2 separate regions of the Homo sapiens genome follow, and region 2 is linked to region 1. Evidence: promoter capture Hi-C in human tissues and cell types (Jung and others, 2019). All regions are on one chromosome and are shown on one strand. Each heading gives the region's core, a stretch centred on a gene start or on the middle of the fragment in contact. The rest is flanking DNA. Distances are from core to core; before and after follow the strand shown. Region 1 holds the start of BECN1 (beclin 1). Region 2 overlaps PTGES3L-AARSD1 (PTGES3L-AARSD1 readthrough).

Evidence for each region. Contacts are between HindIII fragments. The study calls those that stand out against the background at their distance.
Region 2: a fragment that was not itself captured here is called in contact with the fragment with the promoter of BECN1 in region 1 in 4 of the 25 tissues and cell types used here (aorta, dorsolateral prefrontal cortex, mesenchymal stem cells and 1 more).

Annotation. Positions count from the first base shown.
Region 1 is chr17:42,821,161-42,826,331 of GRCh38, forward strand. It overlaps BECN1 (beclin 1), which reads right to left and starts at 3,122. Exons shown (of 12, transcript NM_001313998.2): 1 at 2,995-3,122; 2 at 2,588-2,719. The coding sequence starts at 2,717. MIR6781 (microRNA 6781) reads right to left here and starts at 2,783; the gene lies at 2,720-2,783. RefSeq lists enhancers at 2,349-2,915, 2,916-3,484, 3,351-3,480, 3,485-4,051. The HindIII fragment of the contact is 8,869 bases long and covers 1-5,171 here.
Region 2 is chr17:42,974,083-42,978,943 of GRCh38, forward strand. All of the region lies in intron 4 of PTGES3L-AARSD1 (PTGES3L-AARSD1 readthrough), which reads right to left. All of the region lies in intron 4 of PTGES3L (prostaglandin E synthase 3 like), which reads right to left. Among named protein-coding and RNA genes, the nearest start is that of PTGES3L, 3.6 kb to the right of the region's middle. RefSeq lists a silencer at 2,417-2,617. The HindIII fragment of the contact is 3,226 bases long and covers 1,803-4,861 here.

The DNA of each region.
Region 1 (5,171 bases), core at 1,872-4,371:
GTGATTCCCCTGCTTCAGTCTCCCAAGTAGCTGGGACTACAGGCGTGCACCACCATGCCCAGCTAATTTTTTTGTATTTTAGTAGAGACAGGGTTTCACCATGTTGGCCAGGTCTTGATCTCCTGACCTCGTGATCCACCCGTCTCAGCTACCCAAAGTGCTGGGATTACAGGCTGAGTCACCGCGCCCGGCCGGTATCATTTATCTTTAAGAATCCTTATCTGTCAAAAATACAGAAATATTTACAGTATTTATGTTTGGGATTTGCTTCAAAACAATTCAGAGTGGGAAGGAATGGATGGGGCTGTAGACAAAACTTGATTAAATATGTGTTGATAATTGTTGCAACTAGGTGATGGGTACACAGGAGTTCATGATATACTCTGAAATTTTCCATCACAAAAGCAAACATCCTGTTTCCCCCAGAATAGCAAGGAGGGAACATAAGGAAACTTTCTAGGAAGATGAAACATTGCTAAATTGCAACGATCCAGATTACATCAGTGTATCCATTTGTCAAAAATGTACAGCTAAGATTCATACATTTCAAGTCATGACAATTTACCTTTCTAAAAAGGTGTGAAAAACATAATAATTGAGCAGAGGATGGGAGGTGAATGGAGGTGTAGACAACATAAGAATGTGAGAATATGGCTGATTATTGAAGCTGGATGATGAATACAAGGCAGGCTATGCTATTCTCTTGACTATATATGTCTCAAATTTTCCATAATAAAAAGTCAAAAATTGTTATTAAAAGAGTTTAAGAGGCGCGGTGGCTCACGCCTGTAGTCCCAGCACTTTGGGAGGCTGAGGCGGGCAGATCACAAGGTCAAGAGATCGAGACCATCCTGGCCAACATAGTGAAACCGTCTCTACTAAAAATACAAAAATTAGCTGGGCGTGGCGGTGTGTGCCTGCAGTCCCAGCTACTCAGGAGGCTGACGCAGGACAATCACTTGAACCCGGGAGGCAGAGGTTGCAGTGAGCCGAGATCGCGCCACTGCACTCCAGCCTGGCAACAGAGTGAGACTCCGTCTCAAACAAACAAACAAAAAAAAGAGCTAATTTCCCCTCAAGAAAGAGAAACCAGGTAATAATAGCAGCTAATACTTATTGAATACTATTTGCCCAGCAAATTCCTAAGTGTTTCTGTGGTTTGTCATATTTGAACTTTATAAATTCTTTATGAGGCAGTTTAACGTTTTACAGAAAAAATCAGAAACCAAGGCTTGGAGAAATGAAGTAACTTGCAAAAAGTTGTTCAGCTAGTAAATGACAGCCAGGATTTAAACCCAAGCAGGCTGACTCCAGGCCCATAAGCTTATTTAAGCTGCCTATTCAGTCTTCTCTTTTACTGTCTGACTTAATCTGAATTCTTCTGACTTTGCGGGATTTTGGGGTTTTTTATTTTTTTTAATTATAGAGACAGGGTCTTACTGTGTTGCCCAGGCTGGTCTCAAACTCCTGCTCAAGTGATCCACCTGCCTCAGCCTCCCATAGTGCTGGGATCACAGGTGTGAACCACCACTCCTGGCCTTTTTAATTAATTTATTTTTTGAGACAGGGTCTTGCACTGTTGCCCAAGCTGCAGTGCAGTGGCATGATCATAGCTTCCTGCAGCTTTGACCTCCTGGGCTCAAGTGATCCTCCTGCCTCAGCCTCCACCACCCACCACACCCAGCAATTTTTTTTTTTTTTTAGAGACAAGATCTCTGCTAGGTTGCTCAGGTTGGTCTTGAACTCCTGGGCTCAAGCGATCCTCCCACCTCAGCCTCCCAAAGCACTGAGATTACAGGCGTGAGCCATCACATCCAGCAAATTCTTCAGACTTTAAGACTCTACTCCATTTACCAGCTGTTGGACCTTAGGTAAGTCACTTAACCTCTCTGTGCCTCGGTTCTTCATCTGAAAAATGATGTAATGACGGTATACCCCGTACGGGTTGTTACAGGGACTAAATGAAGTAATACGTGTAATGCACTTGGTATTACTATATAGTAAGTCCTCAAAAAATACCATTTATTATTATATATACATATTCCTTTTCTCTGAAACAGCAGGAGCAGAAAATAAGGATCTTTCTTTTGCTACTGAAAGCTCTCTTTTTTTGAGACGGAGCCTCGCTCTGTTGCCCAGGCTGGAGTGCAGTGGTGCGATCTCAGCTCACTGCAAACTCCACCTCACCGGTTCAAGCGATTCTCCTGCCTCAACCTCCCGAGTAGCTGGGACTACAGGCACGTGCCATCACGCCCGGCTAATTTTTGTATTTTTAGTAGAGAGGGGTTTCGCCATGTTGGCCAGGCTGGTCTCGAACTCCTGACCTCAGGTGATCTGCCCGCCTCGGTCTCCCAAAATGCTGGGATTACAGGCGTGAGCCACCGCGCCCGGTCGGAAAGCTCTCAGAAGTCCACAATGTCAGAATGCTTTATGTTTCCAAGGAGAAAACAGGGAGCCAGATGAAGTGACTTTCCTAGGTTCACACGATGAGTTTGTGGCAGACTACACAGCCACCATAAGAATTATATCACCAAAGCTGCCCACCTTCCACATTCTTGACCACCCTCTTTCCAAGGGTCTCGCTGACCTGTGAGTTCCTGGATGGTGACACGGTCCAGGATCTTGAAACTCGTGTCCAGTTTCAGGGGCTGGCTGCAGCGCTGGCACACGAAGCTCACCTGCATGGTGCTGTTGTTGGACGTCTTAGACCCTTCCATCCCTGAGGCCGTGGAAAAGAGGCAACATTAGGGAGAAGCGACGCCCTTGACCTCCGGCCCGGGGTTACCACATGCCTTGGTGACGATGGTAAAGGGAGGGAAGTCCCAACCTGCGCCGTTCCCTCTAGGAATGGTATGATACGGGGAGGACCTGCTTCCGGGACAGCCTGAGCAAAGGCAGTTTAGAGCCCAGGGTCAGGGAAGGGACTCCAATAAGAGCCGTGAGGGTTCCCAGACTCCCTTCTAAGGTCCCACCTCAGCCCCCGATGCTCTTCACCTCGGGAGCCCGGAGCCCGTCACCCAAGTCCGGTCTACCGCGGAGGCACTGTGGCCTCGGGTCGGCCCCGGAGCGAGGCCTCCAGAACTACCATCGCTCTGTCTTCAGCGACTTCCCGGTAGCCGCCGGAAAACTTCCGCCCGAGACCGGACGTGACGCTACGACGGCAGCAGGAGCTCCTGGTCCACAGGCTCACAGGCCCGGCAGCGGCCCCCAGAGGCCGGGCTGGGAAAAGCAGCGGGCTTCAGCGGATGAACAAGGTTACCACGGGAAGTGTAGGAGCCAAGGCCGCAGAGAATGGGGAGGCTCCGCTATTCTCTAAATTCAGGGGGCGGCGGGCGCGGTGGCTCACGCCTGTAATCTCAGCACTTGGGGAGGCCGAGGAGGGCGGATCACGTGAGGTCAGGAGTTCGAGACCAGCCTGGCCAACACAGTGAAACCCCGTCTCTACTAAAAATACAAAAACTAGCCGGGCGTGGTGGGGCACGCCTATAATCCCAGCTTAATCCCAGCTACTCGGGAGGCTGAGGCAGGAGAATCGCTTGAACCTGGGAGGTGGAGGTTGCAGTGAGCCGAGATCGGGCCACTGCACTCCAGCCTGGGCGACAGGGCAAGGCTCCATCTCAGAACAACAACAGCAACAACAAAAGGCCGGGCATGGTGGCTCACGCTTGTAATTCCAGCACTTTGGGAGGCCGAGGCGGGCGGATCACAAGGTCAGGAGTTCGAGACCAGCCTGGCCAAAATGGTTAAATCCCGTCTCTACTAAAAAATACAATTAGCTGGGCATGGTGGCGTGCGCCTGTAATCCCAGCTACTCAGGAGGCTGGGGTAGGAAAATCGCTTGACCCCCGGAGGCGGAGGTTGCAGTGAGTCGAGATCATGCCACTGCACTCCAGCCTGGGCGACAGAAGGAAACTCCATCTCAAACCCCCCCCCCCCACACACACACACAAAACCAACAAAAAAAGAAAGTGATATTCAAATAAAAGCTTGAAGAAGGTGAGGAAGGAATTCTTACCTGCATCTTAAGGAAGAGCATTCTAGGCCAAGGGAACAGCAAGAGCACAGAGGGTACCTGTTTGGGGATTAGCAGAGGCTGGTGTGGCTAGAAGATGGGCAACGAAAAGAGATACAGAAAATGGGGTGAGGGAGGTAAGAGTGTTGAGCTACCACCTAGGCTCTTATAGGGATTGTAAAGCTCTGGCTTTCACTTTGAATGAGATGAGATGACTGGGTCTTGAGCAGAGGGACTTACTTCATTTTTAAAAACAACTTTATGGGGTATAATTTACATACCATAAGACTCACACTTTTTAAATGTACAGTTCAATAATTTTTAGTAAATTTACACAGTTGCCCAACTATCACCATAATCCAGTTTTAGAACATTTCCCATCTCCCCTTGCAATCCCCCACTGTGGCCTCCCAAAGTGCTGAGATTACAGGTGTGAGCCAATGTGCCTGGCCAAAAGTTTTTCATTTCAATAAAGTCCAATGTTTATGCTTTTGGTGTAAAAGAAACCACTGCTTAACCCAAAATTGTATGTAGTATTGTCTATTTTATTTTTATTTTGAGACAGTGTCTTACTCTGTTACCCAGGCTGGAGTGAAGCGGAACAAACAAACATGGCTCACTGCAGATTTGACTTCCTGGCTCAAGCAATCCTCTTGCTTCAACCTCCAGTGTAGCAGGGACCACAGGTGATCACTACCATGCCCAGCTAATTTTTAAAATTTTTTGTAGAGATGTGGTCTCACACTGCACTCCAGCCTCGGTGACAGAGCGAGACGCCATCTCAAAAAAAAAAAGAGATGGGGTCTCACTTTGTTGCCCAGGCTTCTGCTTTTTAAATTTAACATTTTTCTATGTTGCTACACAGTTATTGTAGTTATCATGGCTACATTACACTACACTAAATGTACTGCCTTAGTGTATTTTTTTACCGCTGGAAATTCTACTATTTCCCCTGTGGGTGATTACAATAATCCTGCAATGAAGAGCTGGCTACTTATGATAGAGACTCATAACTGGGACTACAGAATTAAGAGTGTGTCAGCTATTTAATGTCTCTTCCTTAACACTGGGAATCATTTTCCAAAGTGCTTGCACATAACTATATTCTGCTTCCAGTAATGTATGAGGAAGCCTGTTTTCATATTGCCTTGGCCAGTAT
Region 2 (4,861 bases), core at 2,166-4,665, 150 kb after region 1:
CGCAGTGGCTCACACAACCTGTAATCCCAGCACTCTGCGGGGCCAGGGTGGGTGGATCACCTGAGGTCAGGAGTTCGAGACCAGCCTGGCCAACATGGTAAAACCCCATCTCTACTAAAAATACAAAATTAGCTGGGCATGGTGGCACATGCTTCTAGTCCCAGCTACTTGGGAGGCTGAGGCAGGAAAATTGCTTGAACCTGGCAGGTGGAAGCTGCAGTAAGCTGAGATCGCGCCACTGCACCCCAGCCTGGGCAACAAGAGTGGAACTCTGTCTCGAAAAAAAAAAAAAAAAAGACAAGCTGCATTCCATGGAGTCAGAGACAGCCCTTCAAGGTCCATGTTCCAAAGTTTCCACATTTATACAGGGAAGAAGTTATTCACTCCTTCATTCAAAAGATATTTATTGGCCAGGTGCAGTGGCTAACATCTGTAATCCCAGCATTTTGGGAGGCTGAGGCAGGTGGATCACTTGACGTCAGGAGTTTGAGACCAGCCTGGCCAACATGGTGAAACCCCATCTCTACTAAAAATACAGAAATTAGCTGGGAATGCTGGTGGGCACTTGTAATCCCATCTACTCAGGAGACTAACGCAGGAGGATTACTGGAACCCGGAAGGTGGAGGTTGCAGTGAGTCGAGATCACGCCACTGTACTCCAACCTGGGCGATGGAGTGAGACTCTGTCTCAAAAAAAAAAAAAAAAAAATTTATTGAACACATACTATGGACAGACTCTCAGCTTGGCACTGGGTTTATAAAAATGTTCTGGCCGGGCGCAGTGGCTATCACTTATAATCACAGCACTTTGGGAGGCCAAGGCACATCAATTGCTTGAGCCCAGGGGTTCGAGACCAGCCTAGGGCAACATGGCAAAACCCCATCTCTACAAAAAATACAAAAATTAGCCAGGCATGGTGGCACACTTCTGTTGTTCCACCTACTCAAGAGGCTAAGGTGAGAGGATTGCTTGAGCCCAGAAGGGCAACGCTGCTGTGAACCTTGATTATGCCACTGTACTCCAGCCTGAGTAACAGTACGACATCCTGTCTCAAAAAAAAAAAAAAAAAAAAAGGTCAACACACTGTCCCAGCCACTTGGAAGCAAGCTGGGGAGGGAGATATAAATAAAGCACTATAATACAGTGTGAAAAGTGTGGTGGTGGAGTTATATAGGGGACATCATGGGAACCCCAAAAGGAGTCACAAGAACCCAGGTTTCTGGAGTGGCAGGGCTTTGAAGGATGCACAGGGATTGGGTGGGTGAAGGTAGTAATGATGGTAACTTTTCAGGAAGAAGGCATACCTTGAGCAAAGGTACAGAGGTGAGAAACAGCCTGGTTTTTGCAAAACAAACAAAACACAACAGTCTGCTGTGGCTAGAAGATAAAGCTTGGGGCAGAGAGTGTGGGATGTGCTAGTGTGTTATGTAACGGATCTCAACCTAAAGGGCAGGAAATCAAACGCTCAAATACCCAAGAGAGTCAGGGAGGTAATGAAAAGGAGCAAGTGAGGTGAAGTACATGATCCACTGAAAACTTCAACTCTAGGCATCTGGGGATGTGTATCAGTGGGGCTAGATTCTCTCATTTTTCTTTTTCTTTTTTCTTTCTGAGACAGAGTCTCACTCTGTCATCCAGGCTAGAGTGCAGTGGGGTGATCTCGGCTGACTGCAACCTCTGCCTCCCGGGTTCAAGCAATTCTCCTGCCTCAGCCTCCGGAGCAGCTGGGATTACAGGCACGTGCTACCGCGCTCTGCTAACTTTCGTATTTTTAGTAGAGACGGGGTTTCACCACGTCGGCCAGGCTGGTCTCAAATTCCCCACCTTGTGATCTGCCTGCCTCGGCCTTCCAAAGTGCTGGGATTACAGTCACGAGCCACCGAACCTGGCTCCCCGTTTTATTTATTTATTTTTTTTGAAATGGAGTCTCACTCTATTGCACAGGCAGGAGTGCAGTGGTGAGCTCTTGGCTCACTGCAACCTCTGCCTCCCGGGTTCAAGCAATTCTCCCGCCTCAGCCTCCCGAGTAGCTGGCACTACAGGCTCGCACCACCACGCCCAGCTCATTTTTTGTATTTTTAGTAGAGATGGGGTTTTGCCATGTTGGCCAGGCTGGTCTTGAACTCCTGACCTAAATCAATCCATCCACCTCAGCCTCCCAAAGTGCTGGGATTGTGAGCCACCTCTCTCAGCCTCCCATTTTTCAACAGAAGCTTATAGTCTGGATTTTTAGAAGATGCACATTTTTAAATGTCAGCAACTAATAAAAATTTTTTAATGTCAGTAACAAGTCAAAATAATTTCTTTTTTTTTGAGACGTTGTCTCGCTCTGTCGCCCAGGCTGGAATGCAGTGGCACGATCTCAGCTCACTGCAACCTCCACTTCCCAGGTTCAAGCGATTATTCTGCCTCAGCCTCCTGAATAGCTAGGACTACAGACATGCGCCACCACACCCAGCTAATTTTTTGTATTTTTAGTAGAGACGGCGTTTCACTATGTTGTCTGGGCTGGTCTCCAACTCCTGACCTCAAGCAATCTGCCTGCCTCGGCCTCCTACAGTGCTGGGATTACAGGCGTGAGCCACCACACCCGGCCTTAAAATAATTTTTGACACTGTAAAGATTAAAACAAATCTGAGAGCCAGATCCAGCCATCAGGCAGTCAGTTTTCAACCTTTAAGGAGGAGACGACTTTGGAGGGCCTTAAGTGGGGGAGCATCAGGGTCAAATGTGTGTTTTAGACAGACCATGCTGAGGGCAATGCAGAGAATGGATTGAAAATGGAACTGAAAATATGCAACAAACTTCTCACTGTATGCTGGTGAGGCTTGAACTAGGAAGAAATTAAGTAGTGAATTCATTAATATTTAAGAGGTCAGTAGAGCCTGGTTGTAAGCCACTACTAGAAAGAATAAGAGTCATCAGGGCTAGGTGTGGTGGCTCATGCCTGTAATTCCAGCACCCTGGGAGGCTGAGGCAGGCAGATCACCTGAGGTCTGAAGTTCGAGACCAGCCTAGTCAACATGGCAAAACCCCATCTCTACTAAAAATACAAAAAATTACCAGGTGCGGTGGCTTACACCTGTAATCCCAGCACTTTGGGAGGCCGAGGCGAGCAGATCACCTGAGGTCAGGAGTTCAAGAGCAGCCGGGCCAACATGGTGAAACCCTGTCTCTATTAAAAATACAAAAATTAGCTGGGCATGGTGGTGGGCACCTGTAATCCCAGCTACTCAGGAGGCTGAGGAAGGAGAATCACTTGAACCCAGGAGACAGAGGTTGCAGTGAGCTGAGATCACGCCACTGCACTCCAGCCTGGGTGACAGAGTGAGACTCTATCTCAAAAAAAAAAAAATACAAAAATACAAAAATTAGCCGGGCGTGGTGGCACACGCCTGTAATCCCAGCTACTCAGGAGGCTGATGAAGGAGAATCGCTTGAACCCAGGAGGCGGAGGTTGCAGTGAGCCGAGATGGCGCCATTGCACTCCAGCCTGGGCAACAAGAGAGAAACTCTGTCTCAAAAAAAAAAAAAAGAAAAGAAGAAAAAGAAAGAAAGAGAGAGAGGGGGAGGGAGGAAGGGAGGGAGAGAGAGAGAGAGAAAGAAAGAAAAGAAAGAAAGAAAGAAAGAAAAGAAAGAATAAGACTCATCAATTAATTTCTACAGTGGAAACTACTTCTGGGACTGGAATATAGAAAACAAGAATTGGCAGAGGCCGGGTGCAGTGGCTCACAGCTGTAATCCCAGCACTTTAGGAGGCCGATGCAGGTGGATCACCTGTGGTCAGGAGTTTGAGACCAGCCTGGCCAACATGTTGAAACACTGTCTCTACTAAAAATACAAAATTAGCTGGGTGTGGTGGCACATGCCTGTAATCACAGCTACTCGGGAGACTGAGGCAGGAGAATCGCTTGAATCTGGGAGGCGGAGGTGTAGTGAGCTGCGATCATGCCATTGCACTCCAGCCTGGGCAACAAGAGCGAAACTCCGAATCAAAAAAAAAAAAAAAAAAAAAAACAGAAAGAAAAAAGAAAAAGAAATGGCTGGGCACATTGGCTCACGCCTGTAATCCTAGCAGTTTGGGAGGCTGAGGCGGGTAGACCACCTGAGGTCAGGAATTCAAGACCAGCCTGACCAATATGGTGAAACCCCGTCTCTACTAAAAATACAAAAATTAGCCAGGCGTGGGGGCACAAGCCAGTAATCCCAGCTACTCAGGAGGCTGAGGAAGGAGAATCGCTTGAACCCGGGAAGTGGATGTTGCAGTGGGCCAAGATCGCGCCACTGCACTCCAGCCTGTGCTACGGGAGTGAGAATCCATCTCACACAAACACACACACAAAAAGAATCAAAGGTTTTGATTGTGAGTTGCAGTAAAGGGAAAGACCATGTTCATAGCAGTGCCAATATCTGAAGTGGAGTCTTACACATTTCATCACCTACAACGAAAGTAAGTTAACTGGGAGAGATTACCAAGAGAGTAAAAAGAGACTCAGGACAAATAGCTAATGTATGCAGGACTTAAAACCTGCATGACGGGTTGATAGATGCAGCAAACCACCATGGCACACGTATACCTATGTAACAAACCTGCATGTTCTGCACATGTATCCCAGAACTTTAAGTTAAAAAATAAGCCAGGCGCGGTGGCTCACGCCTGTAATCCCAGCACTTTGGGAGGCCGAGGCGGGCAGATCACCTGAAGTCGGGAGTTCGAGACCAGCCTGAGCAACAAGGAGAAACCCCATCTCTACTAAAAATACAAAATTAGCTGGGCGTGGTGGTGCATGCCTGTAATCCCAGCTACCCAGGAGGCTGAGGCAGGAGAATTGCTTGAACCCGGGAGGCGGAGGCCATGGT